3 separate regions of the Homo sapiens genome follow, and all the other regions are linked to region 3. The links are contacts of gene promoters, found by promoter capture Hi-C in human tissues and cell types (Jung and others, 2019). All regions are on one chromosome and are shown on one strand. Each heading gives the region's core, a stretch centred on a gene start or on the middle of the fragment in contact. The rest is flanking DNA. Distances are from core to core; before and after follow the strand shown. Region 1 overlaps TCF4 (transcription factor 4). Region 2 overlaps TCF4 (transcription factor 4). Region 3 holds the start of WDR7 (WD repeat domain 7).

What was found. Contacts are between HindIII fragments. The study calls those that stand out against the background at their distance.
Region 1: a contact is called between a fragment that was not itself captured here and the fragment with the promoter of WDR7 in region 3, in 1 of the 25 tissues and cell types used here (dorsolateral prefrontal cortex).
Region 2: a contact is called between a fragment that was not itself captured here and the fragment with the promoter of WDR7 in region 3, in 1 of the 25 tissues and cell types used here (dorsolateral prefrontal cortex).

What each region holds. Positions count from the first base shown.
Region 1 is chr18:55,512,621-55,516,759 of GRCh38, forward strand. All of the region lies in intron 3 of TCF4 (transcription factor 4), which reads right to left. Among named protein-coding and RNA genes, the nearest start is that of MIR4529, 35 kb to the left of the region's middle. The HindIII fragment of the contact is 4,870 bases long and covers 6-4,139 here.
Region 2 is chr18:55,445,214-55,449,002 of GRCh38, forward strand. All of the region lies in intron 5 of TCF4 (transcription factor 4), which reads right to left. Among named protein-coding and RNA genes, the nearest start is that of TCF4-AS1, 5.4 kb to the right of the region's middle. The HindIII fragment of the contact is 5,079 bases long and covers 1-3,789 here.
Region 3 is chr18:56,649,071-56,653,230 of GRCh38, forward strand. It overlaps WDR7 (WD repeat domain 7), which reads left to right and starts at 2,289. Exons shown (of 28, transcript NM_015285.3): 1 at 2,289-2,506. RefSeq lists an enhancer at 2,020-2,409. The HindIII fragment of the contact is 8,093 bases long and covers 1,971-4,160 here.

The sequences.
Region 1 (4,139 bases), core at 1,191-3,690, 1.1 Mb before region 3:
AGGATCTCATAGTCTATTATTAAGAATTTATCAAAATCGAGTGGGAGTGGTATATATAGATGAGCCAAGAAGGCAGAATGCTGGTAAATATTGAAACTGTATGATGGTGACACAGAAGATTATTCTACTACTGTGTATACATTGCATGTGTTTAAAAATTTTTCAAAATAAAAAGTTAAAAAAATAATTAAAAGGCAAGAAAAAATACAGTAGCATCATAAGATCAACCTTGAAAGAAATACTGGTACTTCTGAATGAATAGCTAGTAAGATTTCAATAGGCAAAGTAAGTGCTTAAGGGTAGCAGGCAGGATACTGAGCAAATAACACTGAAGAAAGGCAATGACCTTCAGGATCAGGCCAGTGAATAACTGGTAACAAACTCATGGTATCTTACTGCTCCTTCTAGTATTAGATGAAATCCCCTGATAGAAGATAAAGGGGCACCATCTTTTGGATTTCTGTCAGGGTGTAATTCTCCTAATAAGTGGGCATTTCACCTATGCAAATCTTCACCTGGCATGAAGACGATAAAACAGCGTCACTGACTAGTGCTGACTTCAGGTCCCACCCTTGGTCACTGAAGGAAAACTATTCCTTTTACTGGACAGTGATTTCTGCATAATTCCCATGGGTTCTTTATTCTCACTGGACAAAACCTCTCTGAGATCTAGGCATGATGAAGAGTGGAAAACAAAGAGCTCATTTTTAAAACCCTCTACTCATGTCTTATCATTCCTAGCCCTCAGCTTTTTTTTTTTTTTTTACATCAATAGCCCATCTCCATATAAATGTCTAATTTTGCAACACTTTAGGTGCCACAATGACTGTGTGAATGAGTCAGAATATGCATTACCAAATAGTGAAAGAGTGTAGTTTTCCTAACCAATATCTATTTTTGAAAAAAAAATTTTAAAAGCACATTGCTTCTTATAATTTTTCCATAAATATCTAACTACTCTCAAAGCTACCATTTAGACTACAAATGCATCCTTCAGTTTGTTAAAGAAAATTTCCATCACTTGCAACTATAAATTTGGAAAACGCAATAACCTTTAATGGCATACAGGATATGATTTTGCTTTCTCATATTTAAAAAAAAGCTGCTTATTCCTGAAGTAATTTTTCAGAACATATATAATTTGTTTTATAATTTTAAAGCTGATCCCCAATGTTTGATAATTCTCTATCTCTTCTTTCTCTGTGTTACAATCCCAAAATCTTTTAGTTCTCTTTGAAAATACATATGCATTAAAGTTTGAGGCCAGACAGCCAGCATATACTGGTAGTCTCTGTTAAGGCTAATTGAGTTATCATAAACATGCAAATCCCTTTGTATAGAGAAGCCTGGCTTTTCTTTGCCATCTAAGATGAAACTATAATCTATAAAGATAAGCAAAATCTATGTTCTTGATTTGCTTTGCATGTAAATTCTTTCACATAGATAAGCTCTTGACATGTATTCCTCTTCTGAAAGATCAAAGATCATTCTTCAAAAGCCAGGTTTCTCTCCTATCTTCCATCTCTTCTCAGATTTCTACTGTATCTTTTCCCCATGGCTAATGTTCTCTGAAGAGAACCAAATTAATGAACACTGACATTCTTCATACCTATTTTAATGGCATCCTGTGGTGACAATGCAATAACAGGACTATTGTGGCATCGAGCAACATGGTCTCCAAGTTTACTTCCTGACAGTGACTCAATCACTGAGCATGTGTTTGAAATATTATGCATTCATGCATGCACATGCACATCCATGAGCATACACACACATCTATCCATGCACACACACACACACACACACACACACACACACACACACACCCCAATCATACCTACCACCATGCTGGTCAGTACCCACAGCCAAGGAAAAGTAAAGGCCTAAAAACTAATCTAGAAGATGTAAACGTGGTAACAGTTAATTCAAATAAATCATTAAATATAAAAATTTAAAGAAATACACAGCTGCTGATTATCTCAATTCTTAAACTTTGTTCTTACAGGTTCATCACAATTAAAGCCTCTTCCAAGGTGAACTCTGCTCAGGGCAGCCGCAGCATTTGATTTTTTTTGGACAGAAGCTTTTGGTAAGTAAAAAGCAACCAATAAACTGAGGAAAAACATATGATTTAATAAAAGGAGCACACGTAAAAATATATGGATGCACAAAGCAATTGATGTATATTATTTACTCTTTTTTTACAATATTTATAGAATAGTACAATTTTTATATAATGCATACATCATCTGATTATGAATAATACATGTGTAATATATGGTTTATTACTATTAAAATTATTACCATATAATGGTAATTGAATTTGTGCCAGGCATAATGCTAAGCAATTAATAAACATGCTCATTTGATCCTGCCCCACTCTATAAAGACCTATAATATTACTTTCTTAAGGATGAAAATAACTTCAGCAAGATTAGGAAATTTGCCTAATTTCAGAGGAAAACACATAAACGTAAAGCCATAAGACAGTTACCTGTTCTTGTTCAGCCCTGTATCCCAACACTTAATGTAAAGATGGAGAAACAAAGTTAAAAGACCTAAGAAAGTCAGGCAAGTAGATGAGAGAGAAAAAAGTCAGAGAATCCAAGGTAGGAAAACAACCCAGAGTATAAAACTCACGGAAAAAAATGGCCTCACCAAGTTAAGTATGGTCACACTCATTTGTTCATTCATCAGGCATGTACTGAGTGTTGACTATGTTCTGGTCACTGAACTACGTGCAGACACATGGCTGGGGTGCAAGTTCTGAAGACATGATCCTGACCACTCCAAAAACTACAGTTCCGTCAGGAAGACTAAGCATCTCAGCAGCTGTGATTGCTGGCATATGCCCCAGCATACAAGAGGACAAGCTGGAGGGACAATCAGATCAGTCTTCTGTGTTAAGAAAAACTCCCATGAAGAGGTAGACATGAGCTGAGTTTTGAAAGAGAGTAGGAGGTATAGAAGAAGGCTGTGTTCCAAAGTCCAACGCTTCAAAGAGGTAAAGCAGTAGAAAGGTCAAAGCCAATCACACATGCTACTGATGACGTTTTGAGGTGGAATCTTCAGAGAGTGTTGTGGAAAGAAGCCAGATCATGGCACATTATATACAGAATGTCGTGTGAGAAAACTTGGCTTGAAAAGGACAGAACAAAATGAAGAGAAAAGTTAGTCTCAAAATTTGGAGGGGGGTGGGCGTATTTAAATTCATCTTTAAATTTAAAAATCCATCTTTAATTTTAAGATAGGAGAAATGAGCATATTAAAATGCTGAAGAGTCAGGAGAGAAGAGGAGGTTGGTGATTCCGGAGAAAGACTCCTGGTGAACATGCCCTTAGATGTAAGAGGATGAAGGTAACAGCTATTGAGACTAGCAAATATAGACTTGATTAAAAAGTCAGATTGGGTTTAAAAGAAGTTTCCAGAAAATGGTGGTGGTGGTGTGTATGTGATAAAAGACAAATTCCAAAGGTGTGTGTAACAGCGATCATTCAGTGATGACTTACGGAGACAGGGCTGTAGATGGAAAAGATGACTGGACGTGAGTTTGGAAGTCTTGTTTGTTTATTTTCTAACTGTTACCTTGAACAAGTCATTTAACCTCAACCTCAGTATCCCTGACTCTTAAACAGGGATGACAGTTCACTTAACTTTTTCTATGACATATCTGAAAGCACAGAAATTGGTTCATGGAAAATGCTCACTAAATCTTAGTTTGGTCTTATCTAAATCTAAAATAATATACTGTCTGGTTTTTTGGGTTTTTTTTTAAAGGTTTATAAGCAAAATGAAGGGAAAGCTACAGCTTCCCATTAGGTGAACCCAACCAGAAGACTGAGAGAACGAGAGAAAGGCAGTCTGATTATGCAACTGTAGAAGGTTAGCCTCTTGAGACACAGAGCAGGATGGAGAGTGATCCGGAGGCCTGGATGGAGAAAAACTAAGTAGGAAACACGATGGTGAGCATTAGAAGAGGAAATGACTGTAATCTTCAAGAGTGTGGTCAGGGAAGGCTTTCTGATATGACATTTGAGTGAAGAGAGAGATGAAGGACCCAACTATGGAGAACCTGAGTCAAGTGTTCCTAACAGAAAGGATAACAAATGTGAAGACCCTGAGGTGGGAGCTTGCATGGT
Region 2 (3,789 bases), core at 828-3,327, 1.2 Mb before region 3:
AACACAAGAGACCCTTCATTTCTCTGGGGCCAGGATTGTATTCCAGCTTCACCTGTGTATTAGAGCATTTTTATACTGCTATGAAGAAATACCGGAGATGGTACAATTTATAGATTTTAATTATAATTTATAAATAATTATAATTTATAAAGAAAAGGGGGTTTAATGAACTCATAGTTTCACATGGCTGGGGAAGCCTCACAATCATGGTGGAAGGCGAAGAAGAAGCAAAAGCACGTCCTACATGGTGGGAGGCAAGATAGCATGTGCAGGCGAACTGGCCTTTATAAAACCATCAGATCTCGTGAGATGTATTCACTATCACAAGAACAGCATGGGAAAAACCCACCCCCCATGATTCAATTGCCTCCCACCAGGTCCTTCCCACAATATGTGGGGATTATGAGAGCTACAATTCAAGATGAGATTTGGGTGGGACACAGCCAAGCCATATCAACCTGTCATCCCTTCCTCTGTGGTACTACATCTCATAGTCATCTCACAGAATGACTTCAGTTCCAGTATTCCTATTACGTCTTCCAGCTCCCAAGGCTCTGCTCAAGCATCTCTACCAACTGGTAATTTTCTTTCCATCAGGATAGTTCTAACCAACTCACCTTTAAGATGAAGCTCAGGCATTACCACGTATATTATTAAGAAAATTCATGTTGATCCATACAATAGCCATTCCTAACTCCCTCCTCCCTTGCCTGTCTCTTGAGTCAGAGACCCAACCATGGCTCTAAGAGTTCACATTCCAAGCTTCCCTTGCAGCTATGAGTAGATGTCTGCTAGAGGTTTAGCCAATAAGTTGTTAGCAGAATCCTGCTCAAGGCCACCAGATTCTGGTAATGTTTTTCCCCCTTCCTGGATGGAATAGGATATATGTAAGGATAAATGTTACCCTAACCTCTGCCTCCCCTGCCTCCTTTAGGGGACTCTAATGTGCTGTGTGAGGCTCAAGAGCCAGCTTGCAAGAAAGAAATGCAAGAGGAGAGGAAAAAGCTGAAGAATGAAAATCAGCATGCTAAGGAGGGCAGAATGGGAAGAAAGAAACATTGATTTGCTGAACTCACACAGGCAACCTCCTGCCTCCAGACACCTCCTAAAATGAAGGGGAAAAACCCCTTTGTTTTACTAACCTACCATTGTTATCAGGTATTCTATTAGTTGCAGCTGAACCCATGTTTAGCTGCTATTCCACCTCTGGGAATTCTTTCTAAATTCTCTACAAAGGAGGCAATGCAGTGGTGGGTAAGGACAAGGCTTTAGAGTTCAGCAGATCTTGCTTCAAATCTGGATTCTGCCACTTACCAGCTACACAACACTGGGCAAATAACCTAATCTCTCTGATTCTCAATTGCCTCCTTTGTAAAATGGTAATGACAATGTCTAACAAAGAAGTTTATTATAAGGAGCAAGCAGGATAATATGTGTAAAGTACTTAGCAAGTGCCTGGTACACAGTGAGTACCCAAAAATCTTAGCCAGGCCAGGCGCGGTGACTCACGCCTGTAATCCCAGTACTTTGGGAGGCCGAGGCAGGCGGATCACTAGGTCAGGAGATGGAGACCATCCTGGCTAACACGGTGAAACCCTGTCTCTACTAAAAACACACAAAAAATTAGCTGGGCGTGGTGGTAGATGCCTGTAGTCCCAGATACTCAGGAGGCTAAGGCAGGAGAATGGCGTGAACCCAGGAGGTGGAGCTAGCAGTGAGCGGAGATCGCGCCACTGCATGCTAGCCTGGGGACAGAGCGAGACTCTGTCTCAAAAAAAAAAAAAAAAGGAAAAAAAGAAAAAAAAATCTTAGCCAAGCTGGACACAGTGGCTCACACTTGTAATCTTTGGGAGGCTAAGGCAGGATGACTGCTTGAGGCTAGAGGTTCCAGAGTAGCCTGTGCAACAGAGCGAGACCTTGTCTCTACAAAAAATAAAAATAGAAAAAATTAGCCAGGTGTGGTGGCACGTGCCCACAGTCCCTGCCACCAGGAGGCCAAGGAGGGAAGATCTTAAGCCCAGAAGTTTGAAGCTGCAGTAAGCACCCCTGCACTCCAGCCTGAAGGACGGGGTGAGACCGTCTCAAAAAAAAAAAAAAAATTAGACATTATTATGAGGAAGCTGATGGTGGAGTATCCCTGATATGTATGCAACAACACCCTGGGAACACATGGATTATTTCCCCAACTCTCTGAATTGTAATTATCTGATATCTACCTGATTCTTTTATTAGGATGTGGGCCAAGTTGAAAGCAAGAAAAGTAGCATGCCACTATCTAGTACCTAACATAGGGCTTGCAGATCACCAGCTTCCCAAAAGTACTTGCTGGGTGAATGACTGTACGAACCAAAGACTCATTTGAGTATTGAAGTTTATCATTTTGGGCAGCTTCTAGAATAAATGGAATTTATATAAATGGCTTTAAAAAATACATATACTGAGGACCATATGATTGCAGACATATCGATAACATGTTAATTTTATTTATCAAGCAGCCAATGAAACTTTTAAAGCAGTAAGATAGTCTGCTTTGCTTTCACAAATATATCATTTGCCCTTTCCCTCACTGCTGTAAGGGAGCACTTCCTCTATGTCTGAAAATGAAGACAGCTAAGATATGAAGTGTAAAAACTGCTTATGATACAACCAAAGCCAAAAACTGAACTTGGGATCTATGTTTCATCTTCTCTACCCCTTCCAACGTAGCCACTAGAAAAGGCTTTCGCTCTGAATATTTACTTGTGATGAACTTATAAAATGAACAACCCTATTGTTTTGTGGGGGGATGATATGGGGGGGGAGGTGGCTTCTTTGACAAGTAAACTGTATCTGAATATTAGAATGCACTAAAATATTGTTTCTATGCAGTGTTTTGCCACCTACAGTCAAACCCATACAAAATACTATTGTCTAGGAACGCTCTCTAAATGTGACTGCTAAAATGTCACCTAATCACAGTGACCATGGAAAATAATATTTGTTATAAAAACCAGTCCTCCTTTCATCATAAAGGTTTTTCACGTGTAGTGGGAGCACTTTATTTTTCTACAGGCGGGAATATTCCCTCACAGTAAGGAAAGGTGATCTGCTCTGATAAAACTTTAACAGGTGCTGAAATTTATATATTCTATTACAGCCTTACAAGCCTACACCAATTATTAATTATCCGCCTAAATGTATACTACTTTACACATCCTGCTCTTTAACTAGAACACTCAGAAAATCCATTGTACGTTGCCTGACTAACGGACCATGTCTTGAACGGCTAAATGGCCTAGCAAATGCAAAGATTTTCCCATATGTACACTTTACAGTGTTAATGTAGACCCACTGCCTACACAAACCAACTGCATTTCCACAACCACATTCCACCTTGAGGAACACAGGTGACTTAGGGGAGGCATCTATCTGTGGACAATATCAGCAGATTAGAGTCAGTTTATAGAGCAGCTTCTCTAAAGTGCTTGCAAGCAACATTACCGTGTAGTTACTACAGTTGTAGAGATAGTGAGTACTCTCTCTTATTCTGCTCTGTGAATATTTCAAAGAAGTCACATAGAGGCTTTTTATGCCAGAGCAGGTGTGAACTCAATTCCACTCTTAAACTAGTATCAGCTCAGCTGAGAGAACAGCCGTAAATTTTTATTTCAGAACCAAATGAAACTCATGAGGGTAAGGGGCAAAATCTCATTAACTATTAAAATGTCTTGAAAAGACTGGGAGAAGGCAGCTTCTTTTATTCTCAATTGGTGTTCAAACTATACCTACGACTTTGCGAAAAATGGAAAA
Region 3 (4,160 bases), core at 1,039-3,538:
AAGAACAAGCCTCCTTGCCTTTTGCAGAGCTAACCTGGAGCTTAAGAAGTCCAGAAGGTACTGGTGTGCTGTAGGGTAATTTGCTACTAAATTCTCAAACCCCCAACCTTGCGATCTGCCTGCCTCGGCCTCCTAAAGTGCTGGGATTACAGGCGTGAGCCACTGTGCCCAGCCTGCTACTAAATTTTAAGGACAGAGTAGTACTTAAGTTTTAAAAATGCCACTAAAGCTGGGTGTGGTGGCTCACGCCTGTAATCCCAACACTTTGGGAGGCCGAGACAGGCCAATCTTGAGGCCAGGAGTTCGGGACCAGTCTGGCCAATAGAGTGAAACCCCATCTCTACTAAAAATAAAAAAAATTAGCCAGGTGTGATGGTGTGCACCTGCAATCCCAGCTACTCGGGAGGCCGAGGAAGGAGGATTGCGTGAACCCAGGAGGTGGATGTTGCAGTGAGCTGAGATGGTGCCATTGTACTCCAGCCTGGGTGACAGGGCAAGACTCCATCTCAAAAAATATATATATATATGCCTCTAAAATGGTGAAATTCCCGATTTTATCCTGTGGGTCTCATTTATGATTCTTTTGCAGTGATAACCATACATTTTTGGTTACAACAACAATGACGACATCTCACTTGTCTCCTTGCTTCCCTGTATTTCCCACCTGATTTACATGGCACATTGCTGCCAAATTAATATTTGTGGCTGGCCCATCTTAAGTGACCCCGATAAGTCACACTCTTGTATAATCCTTTCTCCTTGAGTACAGATAAAACCCGTGACTTACTTTAACCAATAATATATGGCAAAGGTGATGGCTGTCACTCCCTAATTTAGGTTATCATCTACATCCATTTCCATATCTATGTCCATGTCCATATCCATGGCTGTATCTATATCTGTGTGACTCCTTTCTTGTGCTCAGTAGAGAGATTCTCCTTGCTAGCTTTGAAGGAGTATGCTGCCATGTTGCGAGAGAGCCTTTAGTAAGGCCCATGTGGTAAGGAACTGTGGGTGGCTGCTAGGACCTGATGGCCACTTCCAGTTCAGAGCCAGTAAGAAGCCAGGGCCCCTAGTCAGACAGCCACAAGGAACTGAATGAGCTGACAGGAGTTTGGAATCAGATTCTTCCCTAGTTGAGCCTCCAGATGAGAATTGCAGTTTGGCTGACATCCACTTGTAGCCTTGTGAGAGCATGAGCACAGGACTCAGCTAACCTGTTCCTGACCTCCTTGCCCATGGAATGTGAGGCAATACATATGTGTTGCTTTAAGCCACTAAGACACTAAGACTGTGATAATTTGTTGTAAAGCAATTTTAAAAACCTGAATACCATGTGGTTAGGAAAAGTGCTACACTATTTATTAGTCAAAAGTCTTCAATTACTTTTCATTGTCTTTGGAATAAAGACCAAAAAGCTTATATGGCCACTAAAAGCCTCTTGTTATCTACATTATTCTATTTTTCCATGTTACTTTTTTATTACCTGGTCTAGGCCGAATGTGATGAAGTCTCTATCAACCCACAAGAGAGCTCCAGGGCATAGACTGCCTGTTAAAGGAGCCGCTCACGGAGCAGAAACAGCTAAGCCCTGATACCACATTTTCCCACTTCACCTACTTCACGTCCCTTGTATTTCTTCCAAATTTAACTTTCTATTTATTGCATATATTCATGTTTTACATTTCAATGCTGGTGACAAAGTTGTTTTCCTTTCCCAATTATTATTCCAAATCTGACCAATTTTTCTAGACTTCCATATGACCTAATGTGATTATCCTTCCTTACCCCAACCTAGAAATAATTCATCTCTTTTCTTCCTTGCTCCTTATTTGGCATTTCTCATCCTGCACTATACTATAGCTTATCTATCTTGGGGGACATTTGTCATTCTTTTTAGCTTTCCAGCATCCAACATACTTTCCAGTGTTTAGGGAATTCCCTACCTCTTGCATCTCAGTGGGAAGCAGTGTGATGGGGTCAGAAGTGTAAACTTGCGCAACATCCTGCTCCCAAGAAAGACGTGCACTTGCTACTTCATCCTTCGCTCCATCTTGGTCCTCCCAACTGGAGAGAGGACAGCCTAGACGAGACTTCCCACAACCAAGATGGCGGCCGTGCACTCCTTGCCCACAGCTGGCCTTTTCTCCACTTTCGGTCTCCATCGTAACGCGGCTGGCTCTCTCGGCGCCGGCTTAGGCCTTGCAAGTAGGGAAATGGTGAGTCTTTCCCGCCCCCTCATTTTTGCGACAGTTGCAGCGAAAGTCACGGCAGTTGGGGCTGGTGTCAGCTGATTTACTGCAGTGGCGGCGGCGGCGGCACCGGCACCTTGCAGTATCACTGGGGAGACGGCGGCTGTATAGCGCTTGCCGCCCCACGGATTATCCCAGCAGGATCTACGCACCCCGCATCCTCCGTAGTTCCGCCCTATCCTTGTCCTCCTTGGCTGGGGCGCCCACCGGCGGTCTGATAGGCTACATCGCGGCATGAGATGAAGCTGTGACAGGTAAGGGGGCTTTCAAGCTTCTCCATGGGAAACCACAGGGCGGGATGTTCCTGCACCGTGGAGGTCAGGGGTCAGGGGTCAAAGGTCACAAACCCGCTCTAGCCGGGGGCGGTGCTAGCTGTCAGATCGCTGCGGCTGCAAGCCTGCAGGTCGGGCCCAAAAGTAGGCGCCGTTACCAAGAGCGTGGGGGCCAGCCGGGGGTCTTTGTGGCTCCCTTGCCTGGTGAGTGATATTTGCTACTTGTGACAGTTGCTTTGGTCTTGAGGTGGGACTGCCTGGTTCCCAGGTGCAATCTAAACGGGATCAGGTGATTGGTGATGATCGTTGGTGGTTATTGACAGCAATTTTGGGCGATGTGCTTGCTTTTGGGGTTCATATAGTCTTTCCTTTCCTGTTGGTACTATTTTTGCCCATGCCCAAGGTACTGACACCACTGTTAGAATTTCATTTTTGAGATGCCATCTGCCAGTTCTTATCCCTTTGCCCTAGTACTTGTCTGAGCGGATGCCAGTCACTCCCATTCACTTAGTGATGGGTCCCAGCGTTCTGAAGCTATGTTTGAAGTCAGCACTACCCTAACTTTGATTCAAAAATTGCTGTTTTATGTTTTTTACCCACTTAGTATGTCACTTTTTGAGGCAGAATTTGCTGGGTTAGATAGTCTGAAACTAGGGAACCTACCGTCGCATGACAGGCTGCATTGATATTGTTGATGCTGCTGAATTTAGGGTTCGGTCAGTGGCAGCTATAGCTTCCTCTCACTGTAATATTTGCCATGAGACAAAAAAAGGCAAACTGACTCTTTCAGGTGTTTATGTCTTAGGATTTTATGGGCAAGGTTGCAGGAATTGCCTGTTGTATGAAAGAAATTAACTGAGTTTTTGACATTTTGTAAAACAAAAATTTTAGTTTGACTCTGCTTCTTGCTTTATAAACAAACTCGTGGCTGTATGAAGGTCAGCTTAAAAGTGAACATAATGTGTTGAAATGCCCTCATTATTACAAAGAATAAAAAACTGTCTAGTTCCATCCAGAACAATACATATTAGTTATTATAAATTGGGAAAACGAACCACTATAAATATAATTAATGCTTTATTATTAATGTCAATTAGGGATTATGGTAGAAAATTCATTTATTTTACTGCCAATCCTTATTTTAAGAGTGTTTCAGAGAAATACTTTAAGAGAAAAATGAGAGTATGCCCTTTATTTTTTCTTATTGCCACCTGTAACTAAATTTTAAAAGATCTCGGTGACTGGGTGAATCAAAGGGACTGGGCTTGGCTTGGTTTGAATATCCCTGTAAGAATTTAACTTAAATTTTAGGGGTAGTGACCCTTGTATCTTACAGTTTCCTTTTATCTTTGATATATGTTCCGTTTTGAAGTTAAAGGAAGTTGGGTGGTTTCTCCATGTAACACACTTAGCATCGAAAATCTTCAAAGTAGTGAGCTTGTTTTGTGTTTTCTTCGTGAGAGGGGTAGGATGACATTTAGCTTTAGTGGTGTGATGTTTATTAGATGTATGAGTCCTTAAAGTTCATTTTGGACCTCAGGTGCAGAGGATGGAGTTAATCTTACTCAATTCAATGGGCTGTTCAAGGCATCTCCCCTGCCTGCATTTTTCGTTCTTCTTTTTTTTTTTTAGATGG